Linked DNA regions of Homo sapiens: all the other regions are linked to region 1. Evidence: promoter capture Hi-C in 16 types of primary human blood cells and fetal thymus (Javierre and others, 2016). All regions are on one chromosome and are shown on one strand. The core of a region is centred on a gene start or on the middle of the fragment in contact, and the rest is flanking DNA. Distances in the headings are between cores, read along the strand shown.

Region 1 (2,930 bases), core at 212-2,711:
AGAAATACTTACAGCCTAGTTTTGTTAGAGGCTGTATTGTAGGAAAGCCTACGTCGGTATGTCAAACGCTGGACCATTCTGAGTGCCTAAATTAAGAATAGAGTAACATCAAATCTTTCCATTGTAAAAGTAAATAAAATCTCAAAACAGTATCATGTGGTCTATTTCATTCACATACATATCCTTGTATGTAACACCCTTAAATTAAGATGTATTATTCCACATTTTAAAACTACTTGTATTTAAAGGTGACTGATAAACAAGAGGCCAAGAATGTTAGCTTTCCTGATGGTAATCAAACGTGGCACTTCCTTAACGTTCTGATGACCAGGCTCCTTACTCAGAGTCTAATTTTGTTTGGAGTGGTGTCCAGAAAAGTGCCACGAGCCCAGTTGGAGAAACACCGCTTTAAACAAAGAGCACAAAAAGTGAGCTCTGAAGTCGAATCCTTAGCTATGCCATTTACTGGGAATATAAAGGGCAAGGAGCTAGCCTCCTTATCTCTAACATGGGAATTCTGTCTACTTTATACAGCTGTCATTAGGATTAAACGACGTGGGCTATCCGTCCCAACACAATGCCTGGCACATATCAGGGTTCAATGTCTTGCCCTAAAGCACCACCTGCGTAAAGGCATACCCTTTAATACTAATTTTGATATTACACAAGTTTCTTTGGGTTATGGCACCTGCTTTCTTCCCACTTCTGGAAACATCGTGATGTTATTTAGCAAATCGGTTATACAGATATGCATACGAGCAACTTCGTTAAGGGAACTACCCAACGTAAAACATAATCAATACTTGAACTAATTTAATCTTCCCATTCCACCCCTTGTAACCACCTCATTTGTTGTCACAAGCCTCTCACTAAAATTAAACTAAAACAGAATTACCAGACACCAAAACTTGACACGTAAAACCAGTGCGAGTGATTTATGAAGCCATTATTCTGTTTGCATCTCCAAAAGCAAGACAGAAACTTCTAACACATTTTTCTCTTCCTTGACATGGGCCTTGGACGCAGAAGCCAAATAGCGAAACCACCCGAACTCGCCGGACCCTGCCCTCCCAAAGACTAAGGACACGTACAGGCGTGCTGTGAAAACGTGGGTGTAAAATATGAAAACGTTTGGCGATTTTCCAGACTCAAACCGCCAAACCACAACTCGTTAGTCTCCAAACGCTACACTTGGAATGCAGCAAAGTCCCGGGTGGTGAGCTGTGGCTACTCACGGCTTTGGAGGTGCCACCAGGAACAAGGGATTTCCAAAGATCAAAGTAAGGAACTTCCTCACCACCAACCTCCCTGTTGTGCCCCTTACCCCTACACCAGCTCAAAGGACTGCTTCTGAGAGCTCTAGGCTTCCTCAGCTCCTCGGATGGCAGCCGATTGGTAAGGAAATAAAGACAGGGAAAAGAGAACAACATCCATACCTGCAGACAACGTCCCCGGAAGAGGAAGAAAAAAGCCTTTGCCAGTTCAAAGGTCAAATAGAATTGCGCAGGACAGGAAGTTGCGTCAGAGAGAGAGTATCCGTGTTGTACGGAAGCCGACGCACCTCTCCGACGTGGGCAGAGATGCAGGGAACCACCACGTTGTACGGCAACCAACGTGCCGCCCCTCTGTGGGCGGGGATTCACACTAGCTGTCTGTGTCAAGGCCACGCAGAAATCTATTGGAAATCGCTGTGGAAACAAACGCAAATGAAAAGCCGCAAAGAGCAAAGGTGGGACAAAATCAACTTCTTTCGTTGTCATGGACACTGCACTTTTAATCTAAAGGGCGCCAGCTCTGGCGTTAGACCTGGGTTTAAATCCCAACTCTTGACATTTATGGTTAAGGGACCTTCAAGGACCAGGGACCTTCAAGAACCTTCCCTTCTTCAACCTTCCCTTCTCTTTCCTTGTCATTTATTCAGAGCACAAGCTTTACAAACAAATTGGGATTTTAATCCAGTGTCTGCTAATTATTAGCTATGTTACTTTGAGCAAGCCCTTAAATCTCTAAAAGGAAGATATTAGGAACTACCGTGCCATGTTATGTCATGATCAAAGGCATTATGAAGTTAAAGCACTTAGCACAGGGTCTTATAGAGAGGAAGTGCTCAGTAAATGGTTGCTAATCTTATGATTATGTACAAAGAACTACTTGAGGCTTTTCATGGGTGGTAAAGTTTAACCTTTAAAACAGTATGTAAAATTTTACATTAAGCGCACGTGTGTATTTTTCTGAGAAGAGGGTCCCTGGCTTTCATCACCTTGTCAAAGGGATTCATGACCTCTAAAAAAGTAAAGAACTCTTTGCCTGGGCTGTAAAAGACAATTCTAAAAGGGGCCTTTAAGTTTTTAATCTTAGATCAGGCTCCCTGGAAACACACCTCGAAGAGACTTGAGTGTTGGCTTATGGGGAGCGCTCTTAGAATGCACCTCCAGGAAGCTGAGAAAGGCGGGGTCAGGTGATCCACAACGTGGTTGCTGTGAGGCAGCTGCATTGCCCCAGAAGAGAGGATTTGGATAGGATATCCCAGTACCCACTCAACTTTCCTTCTAGTATTTCTAATCCATCTAGCAAACCAAGAAAGCAGGCAAGTGACTGAGGGCATGTAGTCTGTCTTGAACTGTGAGGCCTATTGATTCTATCAAGCCTCACATCACTGCCATCTTTGTCACAACACCAGATGGAAGGCTCTGGTTATATCCTTCCCTCTGCTCACTCTCAAATAGCTGCTTCTCCCCCGACCTTGTCATCAGCTACTTCCCTCCTTTCCAGTCCTTTGATTTTTGTCCTCTGAAATCCTTTTCGTCTCTGTGCCAGGCATTGAGATGGAAGCTTGCATAGAGAGACAAATGTGGTTTTTGAATAAATGCACTAATGAATGTATTTACTTGCAATATGTTCTCTATATTTTAAGAGAGACTTTGCAGAGC
Region 2 (2,937 bases), core at 285-2,784, 4.0 Mb before region 1:
ATCGCTTGGGTGGGGCTGAGGGGGTGGAGGTGGGGGCAGAAGTTGGAGTGAGCAGACATGGAGCCAGTGCATTCCTGCCTAGGGAAAAAAGATAGACCTTGCCTCAAAAAAATGAAACAAAAAATAACATTGAGCTAGGTGAAATGCCTTCTTGTATGAACTAAAGTATAGCACTCTCGAGTTACACATGATGAATGGTTATTGAAGCAATTAAATCCCAAAATACTTAAAAGCTTTGATTTGAAATTGCTTATTTAATATAGCCTAAACTGTTACCAACAGTCTTTATTTAGAAGATTGTCATTCACTAAATAAAAATTAGAACAGATTACACGGAACACACTTACAGAAACGAATATACACATTATAGAATATACTATTTTAGGCTGGGTGTAGTGGCTCACGCCTGTAATCCCAGCATTTTGGGAGGCTGAGGTGGGCAGATCACAAGGTCAGGAGTTCGAGACCAGCCTGGCCAACACAGTAAAATCCCATCTCTACTGAAAATACAAAAATTAGCCGGGCATGGTGGTGCTTGCCTGTAGTCCCACCTACTCGGGAGGCTGAGGCAGGAGAATCACTTGAACCCAGGAGGCAGAGGTTGCAATGAGCTGAGATCATGCCACTGCACTCCAGCCTGGGCAACAGAGCAAGACTCCAACTCAAAAAAAAAAAAAAAAAAAGAATATATTATTTTATAAGTAAATTTAAAGGCAACCATATCTAAAAATTGGTTCCTTTACTGAAGCAAACTTACATCCATCTCTAGATTTTTCTATCTGTTCTCGAAGAAATCTATCCTTGTGAAGATTTGCATCCCCAAACCAGAAGTCCACTTGCTTAGCAATATCTGCAAGCACCTGTTTAACTCGTGACCGTTTCTTTTTTTCAACTTCTTTTTTCTTTTCAGTGCTTTCTTCTTCCATTACCTTTTCCTGATTTCCACTTTCAGTTTCCATTCCTGTGAATTACAAGAAAAAGATGTAAATATTTAAATCACCACAATAGCTAATATAGTTAAATATTTAGATTAGCCTTTAACTGTCTGAGAGAATAATGGACTCACATTTGGCCATCAGAAGACAAACAGAAAGAACATTCATTTTTATATTTAATAAATTAAATTTAAAAATAATTTACCTTCTATGTTAGGGATCATAGCTTTAGTTTCTTTGTACCTTTTAAAACACAGGGCCAGATTATCCTAGAATAATATAAAAAATTACACCTTTATCTCACTAAGCTGCACTTTTAAGTCAGTAAGTGAAAAGTGTAAGATTAAGGGACGTGGACACTCTCCATCGCAACACCCCCTCCTCTCCATCGCAACACCCCCCCGCCCCCGCCCCACCCCAGAGAAGTTGTATTCGCTTTTTTTTTTTTTCTTGGAGACAGTTTCCCTTTTGTTGTGCAGGCTGGAGTGCAGTGGCGTGAACTTGGCTGACTGCAACCTCCATCTCCCGGGTTCAAGCAATTCTCCTGCCTCAGTCTCCCAAGTAGCTGGGACTACAGGCACATGCCATCATGCCCGGCTAATTTTTGTATTTGTAGTAGGAGACGGGGTTTCACCATGTTTGCCAGGTTTGTCTTGAATTGCTGTCCTGGTGATCTGCCCGCCTCCGCCTCCCAAAGTGCTAGGATTACAGACATGAGCCGCCGCGCCTGGCAATTTTGATTTTTAAAATGTTAATTTCTGCTTTCTAGGGGCAGAATTCAACTGGTAAGCTGTAGAAATCAGCCTCTTCTCTCTTCTCTTTCTTCTTCTCTTCTCTTTTCTTTGAGGCAGTCTTCCTCTGTTGCCCAGGCTGGAGTGCAGTGGCATGATCTCAGCTTACTGCAAGCTCTGCCTCCTGGGTTCAAGCGATTCTCCCTGCCTCAGCCTCCCAAGTAGCTGGGAATACAGGCACCACTGCCAATCACACCCGGCTAATTTTTGTATTTTTAGTAGAGACAGAGTTTCACCATGTTGGCCAGGCTGGTCTCGAACTCCTGACCTCAGGTGATTCGCCAGCCTCAGCCTCCCAAAGTGCTGGGATTATAGGTGTGAGCCACCGCGCCCAGCCATAAATCAGCCTTTTCAAGTGGCCTTCTCATCCCAGTGTTTATTTCTTGGGCAGCAATTTCTAACCCCCTCCTTCCTCAAGTTACTTTCAGTATCTCTTCCCCTTTGCTTTGTCAGCTCCAGCCATACAGTCCTTGCACTTCTTGAAGCTCACCCAGCAATGTCTAACGGGGTCTTTTAAACCTGTTCTCTTTGAAACACATATCCCCAGAGATAACACAGCTTGCTCTCCTACTTCAAGTGTTTATTTAAATGTCACCTCAGTGCGGTCCCCTCCCACAATCATATTTAATAATGCAAATTTCTGGATACATACACAGTAACTCCCCTGCCTTATTTTTGTTCATAGCATTTATCATCTTCTAACATTACTATCACCACTATGCAATTTATTTCTTTGTTGTTTATCCTTCCTAGATGGTAAGATCAATGAAATCAGAGATTTTTGTTTGTTTACTGATATATTGTCAGTCCCTGCCATACAGTCACTTAAAAATGTGTTGAATAAATTGTGCCTCGATTTTGTTGAATGAATTGAATCACTAGTGGTATAGGAGCAAAGGATTAATATCAGGCCTGGGATAATACAGGCTGCTTGAGAATAACCTCAGTCTCCTATAATACAGTCTTCTTGGAAACTGGAGAGACTAATGGGGGTGTTGTATCTGTTTCCCATGTTGCACCTGGTTTGGAGCAGCTATTAGATGGCATGGAGGCCTTATGCCTACGTGACCAGAACAACAGATTGATAGGCAAAAGAGGTTAAAGCTTTCACGTGTCAAAGTGTCCTAAATACACCATGGTCCTTATCTAGGGAAGGCATACATGCCTGTTGTGGGTAAATGGGAGAAAAAAGTAGTGAATTTGGGTAATTG
Region 3 (2,718 bases), core at 192-2,691, 3.1 Mb after region 1:
TCCAGATTCCACTGGCAGGGACCAGGATCGCAGCCCGAGCGCCGGGGCGGGAGGGATGACTCCGGACGGTAGGGGGCACCGGCGTGCGGCCCGGCCGAGCCCCCAGGTAGCTCCGCGCGCACAGCAGGACCGTCATTGACGCCATGAGCGCGCTGCTGCGGCTGCTGCGCACGGGTGCCCCAGCCGCTGCGTGCCTGCGGTTGGGGACCAGTGCAGGGACCGGGTCGCGCCGTGCTATGGCCCTGTACCACACTGAGGAGCGCGGCCAGCCCTGCTCGCAGAATTACCGCCTCTTCTTTAGTAAGTAGCTCCCGGAGGTTCGCCGAGCGGCGCACCGGAGAAACCTGGGTGGGGGATGGAATGGGGGACACTTGGGACGCCCCGCGCGGTCTCCCTTCTCTCTTTTTGGGGCCCTCAGCGGTAGCCGCGCGGTCCAGGCCACCTTACTTCCCGCGGGAGCGCGCACCGAGTCACGAGAACTGCCAGCGAGGAGGCGGCGGATCAAGACCCCAAAGCGGAGAGCAGAGGCGCAGGGCTGCCGGCTGGGGGGTAGATAGCGCCCTGTGCCCTGCCAGCCGCCCTCCCCGAGGGGTAGGCAGAGTGCAAGCGGCCACCCCGCGGCGGCCTGCAGCCATTAGCCGGCCCGGCCGCCGTTCCCGGTTCACACAACTCAGTGAGGAAGGGAAGGCAGAGCCCGCCCACACGCCGGCCTTCCTAGAGGCGTAAGAAACCTCCTACTGCGGGAGCTCCCTGACGTCGGAGAGGCAGGCGGAACTTTGCGGATGCCTAATCCAGCGCGTCTTCTTTTTTTGGAGGGACTCTGATGAAGGTTCTTTCCCCAGAAGCTTGACTTGGTACGCACAAGTTTACACCCTGAGTGTGATCCACCATCCAAAGCCTCGTTGGTTCCGGAGCAGCCCCTTTTCCTCCCCAAGCTGAACAAGCCCAGAAGGCTAAGCGACTTCGGGGGGGTCCCTGAGTTGCCGAGCTCAGAGAAAGGACCCAGGTCTTCGTGACTCATTGTTCCGTGTACCCCATTGTTTCACTGTGTACGTTAACCGTAACAGAAAATAGCGATGTCGGTCGCTTGCCTTCACTCCCCACTGACTGCAGAGCCTTGGAGTGGTAGTATCAAAGTGGGCCTTGCATTATCGCTCCCCTTTTCGGAGCACTGGCTCTGGAGGCTTTCAGTTCTAAGCAGGCCCTCGAGTTCTTCACGTCTTAACTCTGTGACCCCGGACGAGTTTAAGTTGCTAAGCCTTGTTTTTTCTCATCCGTAAAATAGGGCTGCAAGTATTACATGACATTATATATGTAAACTGATTAGTCACAGGGCCTAAAATATAAATTACTATTGTTAATACCGATAATCATTATAGATATTTGTAATTTATGAGAGATTTGCAGTTATGCTACATGAGTTTAGGGTCGAGGATTATTTTGTGGGAAAGAAGAGTTTGCCTAAAGTCGTGTGATTATAATGCAACTAGTACTAGAATTTCTATTTTCTTCAAAATTGGTTGCAGTTTTCACCCTATGCCACATATTTTCTTCTATCTTTGGTTAAGACTGATCAGGTGAACAGGAAGTCTCAAATTTCTGAATGGATTATGTTCTAAAAGGTTACCATGTGATGATTAATGGGAATAGTCAGAAAAAATTATGAAGTGGCAGTTCGCTTTTTAAGCAGATTGAAAAAAGGCCTGTCTACTGCAAGTATTCTAGATTTGCAATAAGTACGGTAATTAATAGATACCCAAATAATAAATATTTATGAAGTGTGCTAGACACTGTTAGGCATAGTACAGAGATTCACAATATTACTATAATTATGGAAAAAGTAAATACACTGGTTGAGCAAAAACAGGCTTGAGAAGCCAGGAGCGCACAGAGTAGTTGACCCAGTACCGGATTTGGAATGGGGAGTCCTAGGCCATAATCTTGGCTCTGCCGTTAACTCGCTGTGTGCTGTTGGGTGGGTGGTTACTTCAGTTCTTTCTCACAGAGCCAGTTTCTTCAGCTGTAAAATGAAGCTTTTGACCTTGAAACGATGATCCTCAAGGTCCTTCTCAGCACTGGTATTCCCTGAAGGCATTGGATGAATAACGGAGATTCTAACAGTCTCTGTTAAGACAGGATGTCGAATGGGGGCATTTTTGGGAGTATGTTGGCCTCTTATTGTTGGTTTGTTTCTTTAGCTGCAAATGTACTTAGGACTCATGATTTTTCTGTAACTAGAGTGCCACAAATAAAATACGTTTTTCATTCAGTTGGATAAACAGGGCAGGAAAGAAGAAAACCCGATTTTACTAAGGTAAATGGGCAAAAACTGGAAGAAAGGGGAGTGTGGTTTTGGAGAGGGTCCCGATGGTAAGATCCTGATTGGAAGGTGTGTTGGTTAAACAATTTCTGAACTAACCGCCAGATGGCATCACTGGCCAGGACTGTTTACTACCTGCTAGAAGGGGTAGGGCAAAGTGAAACGAAGCCACTCTAGGGCGAATGGGGTAAGGGGAAAGCAACGAATAAATTGCCCTTTATAAAGATGATCACAGATTGGATATTTATTACTCAGTGTGTCTGTATGCAGTACTAGGGTGGACTAATGTCTCACTTCAAAAAAAATATGAGTGTAGTATACTTGGCCTAAAATTGTTACTCAGTGTTACTAAAGTGTAATCATTTTCCACATCTCCAAATATATTCCAAGTCTCTGAA
Region 4 (2,738 bases), core at 40-2,539, 3.6 Mb before region 1:
GGCTTGGTTCAGATTTTCAATTCTAGGTTTGAATTCCGGAGGGACATTTAATAACAACAAAGCCAACCCCAAAGGAATTTGCTCTAATTTTTTCAATATATATGAAATAAAAAAACACAAAAACGGAATTATGAAATTACTATTCTGTGGATGGTGCATATACAAAACCTAAGCAATATCCCAGGTTTACTCAAGAGAAGTGAAGTTCAGAAGGACTGCAATTTACCTAATGTTACAGGACGTTTGAGTAGCAATCAGGGCAAGGAATTCCTCTCGAAATTTCAAAAACTTAATACGAAAAAATTACACATTGTCCCTGTAGTTATGAGCACCAAGAATCTGAATGCCCATTGGGAACTCTGCAATTCAGCAAGTCTTTGTAGCTACCAGAGTTCATCAGTATCTGGAACCTTATTTTACTCCAGCATCCAAATGACTTCTACTTAAAATCAATCTGAGGCATTAACTCCGGAGCCAGATCCCACCTGCTCTGCCAGGGCTAAAGAGAGGGTCAGATACAGGGATACTAGCTTTGGCGTTAAACCTAAGCTCAGCGCAGGGTGTGTCCAGGTTGCCGTGGAGCCGGTCCTACAGCCCATTAGCGCGAAGCTACCCCTTGTTTCCTGGAGATGATGTCTCCCGTGACTCCTTCCCCGCGTGACAGGGCGCCCTGGCAGGAGGGACACCCCGCCCCCTCTTCTACCTCTTTCCGAGGAGGCCCCAAGACCGGACCCCAGACTGGGCCTCCAAGACGACCACCAGTCTGACGTCTGCTAAGCAGTGAGTGTAGCAGGGCTCTCGACCGCCACCTCCAGCCGCCGGGGGACGGTGAAAGGGATTCCCCGCCGGGGGCCGAAGAGGAGGAGCCACGGGGGCCGGGCCCCTCCCCCAGCGGGCTTACCCTCCGCCGCCGCCTACTCGCTGCAGCCGCCCCGCTTCCTTGCGAAGCAGTCCGAAGCACTGCGTCCAGCAGCAGTTCCCCATCGCATGCCGCCCAGGCGCCGCCGCTCCTCCTCCTCCTCCCGCTCAATGCCCAAACCCAGGCCCGGCAGCTGCATCCGCACGGCACGAGCCGAAATGGGGTTCAAGGACCGAGGGCGGGCCGGCCAGAGCCCGGCGGCGTGAGGGCACGGGGCGACGAAAGACGAGGCGCTAGGGAACAAAGGCAGTGTTTACTCCAGCGGCCGCAGAGCCACCGCTGCGCGAGGGAGGAGCACCGGGCTCAAGGCTCTGGACTCCCTCGCCGTCCGCATGGCCCTTCTCGCCTCAGCTCCTAGCCCAGCGTGAGTGACCGCCTCCAGCTGCCGAAGGAGGCCAGTCCCCGCGAGCCGAGCACCCTGGCCCCGCCCCCAGCGCGCCCAGGCCCCTGCTCGCCGCCAACGCTGCCACACCCCCGGCCTCTCCCGCGCCCCAATTGGGCGCGCTACCTCGGTGCCCCGCCTTCTCTGGCGACCGGCCTGTGCGTCACTTCCGCTCGCTCCTGGTTCAGCCGCCTCTGCCTGCGAGACGGTTCAATTCCTGCGTGCGGACGTTTGTTTTGTTGGACCTTGACCTGACTAGGAAATTTCCCTCTCTCATTGCAGTTTCGGGCATCCTCGTCCGGAGCACGCTGGGCGTGGCATGGCTAAGGCTCAGCCTTCGAACTTTGTATCAAAGGCGTGTGAGGAGCCAGAGTCCCAGGCCGGAAGTCATAAGTGCGAAGGGGCGTTTCTCTGCACGGTGTGCTTAGTTTTTGTTAATACTGCACCATAAGCGGAAAATAGACTCGGGAACTGATTGAGGTTACTTTGAACGCACCAAGATTTTTTTCCGGTCTCTGGTTTGTGTCTTAATTTCCATACTGTTAATGTTTTAGGGAAACGTAATAATGGTGCATTATTGTCCTCGTTTTGTTTGAAAATCAGATCTTCACATAATTTTGGGTTGGGTAGTTGGGGTTCAGAGGAAATTGGCAAGAGGGCTGGGGTTTTTCGGGGACGTCAGCGTTGCCATTCCAAGCATGCTGCCCAGAACTGCTGTAGATGGGAAGAGAAAGCTGCTCTAATGTGTCCGCAGCCCTCTCAAGTGCTACCATATAATTCGCGTCTTGTTTGGCCTCAAGACAGTTGGCCTCACAATAGATATAAGATGTGGTTTAGTAGACACCTCGTCCAGTGGATAGGAGGATGCTCTCATGGACTGGACACATCAAGTTTTTAGCCTGTTTAATTAAACCTAGAAAAATTGTTACATTTTAGAAAGTTTTTATTGATGATAAAATGTTCTCTGAACTCATTTTCTTGCTTCTTTAAATACGTATCTGGTTTCAATCTTAGCACTGCTACTTACTAATGTTTATTTTATTTGGGTTTTAGTTGTTTTGTAATCAGAAGCATAGGATAACATTTGTCCCAATGGTTTGCTTTCAGTGAATGTTGGGATGACCGAATGACTTCCTAGTGAAAGCATTTTCTTTTCTCCTTCCAACCCCTGAAATTAGACAAATGTATTAATGAAATAATCATTAAAATTCAACTATAAATGTTTACAGAAACTGGTACATCTATCCTATGGAATATTTAGTAACAAATAGGAACACAGTATTGATGAACACACCCTGAAATGAATCTGTAGGAAATTATGGTTAAAGAAAAAGCCAATCTCAAATGCTTATATACTGTGTAATTCCATTATGTAACATCTCAGAATTGATAAATTTATGTAAGTGGACAACAGAATAATTGATTGCCATGGGTCAG

The links. Contacts are between HindIII fragments. The CHiCAGO score rates a contact against its expected background, and 5 or more counts as called.
Region 2: a fragment that was not itself captured here is called in contact with the fragment with the promoter of RPL34 in region 1 in 2 of 17 cell types (neutrophils and total B cells); the score reaches 7.8 in neutrophils.
Region 3: a fragment that was not itself captured here is called in contact with the fragment with the promoter of RPL34 in region 1 in 1 of 17 cell types (total B cells); the score reaches 6.4 in total B cells.
Region 4: the fragment with the promoter of AP1AR here is called in contact with the fragment with the promoter of RPL34 in region 1 in 1 of 17 cell types (neutrophils); the score reaches 5.9 in neutrophils.

Annotation. Positions count from the first base shown.
Region 1 is chr4:108,619,107-108,622,036 of GRCh38, reverse strand. It overlaps RPL34 (ribosomal protein L34), which reads right to left and starts at 1,461. Exons shown (of 5, transcript NM_001319236.2): 1 at 1,437-1,461; 2 at 13-86. The coding sequence starts at 77. RPL34-DT (RPL34 divergent transcript) reads left to right here and starts at 1,580. Exons shown (of 4, transcript NR_026968.1): 1 at 1,580-1,729. RefSeq lists enhancers at 1,449-1,498, 724-1,923. The HindIII fragment of the contact is 3,742 bases long and covers 1-1,931 here.
Region 2 is chr4:112,642,692-112,645,628 of GRCh38, reverse strand. LARP7 (La ribonucleoprotein 7, transcriptional regulator) reads right to left here. Exons shown (of 13, transcript NM_016648.4): 2 at 758-961. The coding sequence starts at 959. Among named protein-coding and RNA genes, the nearest start is that of MIR367, 3.8 kb to the left of the region's middle. RefSeq lists a silencer at 1,823-1,924. The HindIII fragment of the contact is 2,597 bases long and covers 236-2,832 here.
Region 3 is chr4:105,471,476-105,474,193 of GRCh38, reverse strand. It overlaps PPA2 (inorganic pyrophosphatase 2), which reads left to right and starts at 132. Exons shown (of 12, transcript NM_176869.3): 1 at 132-300. The coding sequence starts at 144. RefSeq lists a silencer at 1-151 and enhancers at 372-491, 782-951. The HindIII fragment of the contact is 1,188 bases long and covers 848-2,035 here.
Region 4 is chr4:112,230,338-112,233,075 of GRCh38, reverse strand. It overlaps AP1AR (adaptor related protein complex 1 associated regulatory protein), which reads right to left and starts at 1,289. Exons shown (of 10, transcript NM_018569.6): 1 at 902-1,289. The coding sequence starts at 984. It overlaps AP1AR-DT (AP1AR divergent transcript), which reads left to right and starts at 926. Exons shown (of 1, transcript NR_186684.1): 1 at 926-2,738. RefSeq lists enhancers at 495-544, 569-1,516 and silencers at 755-1,024, 1,185-1,464. The HindIII fragment of the contact is 11,290 bases long and covers 1-2,738 here.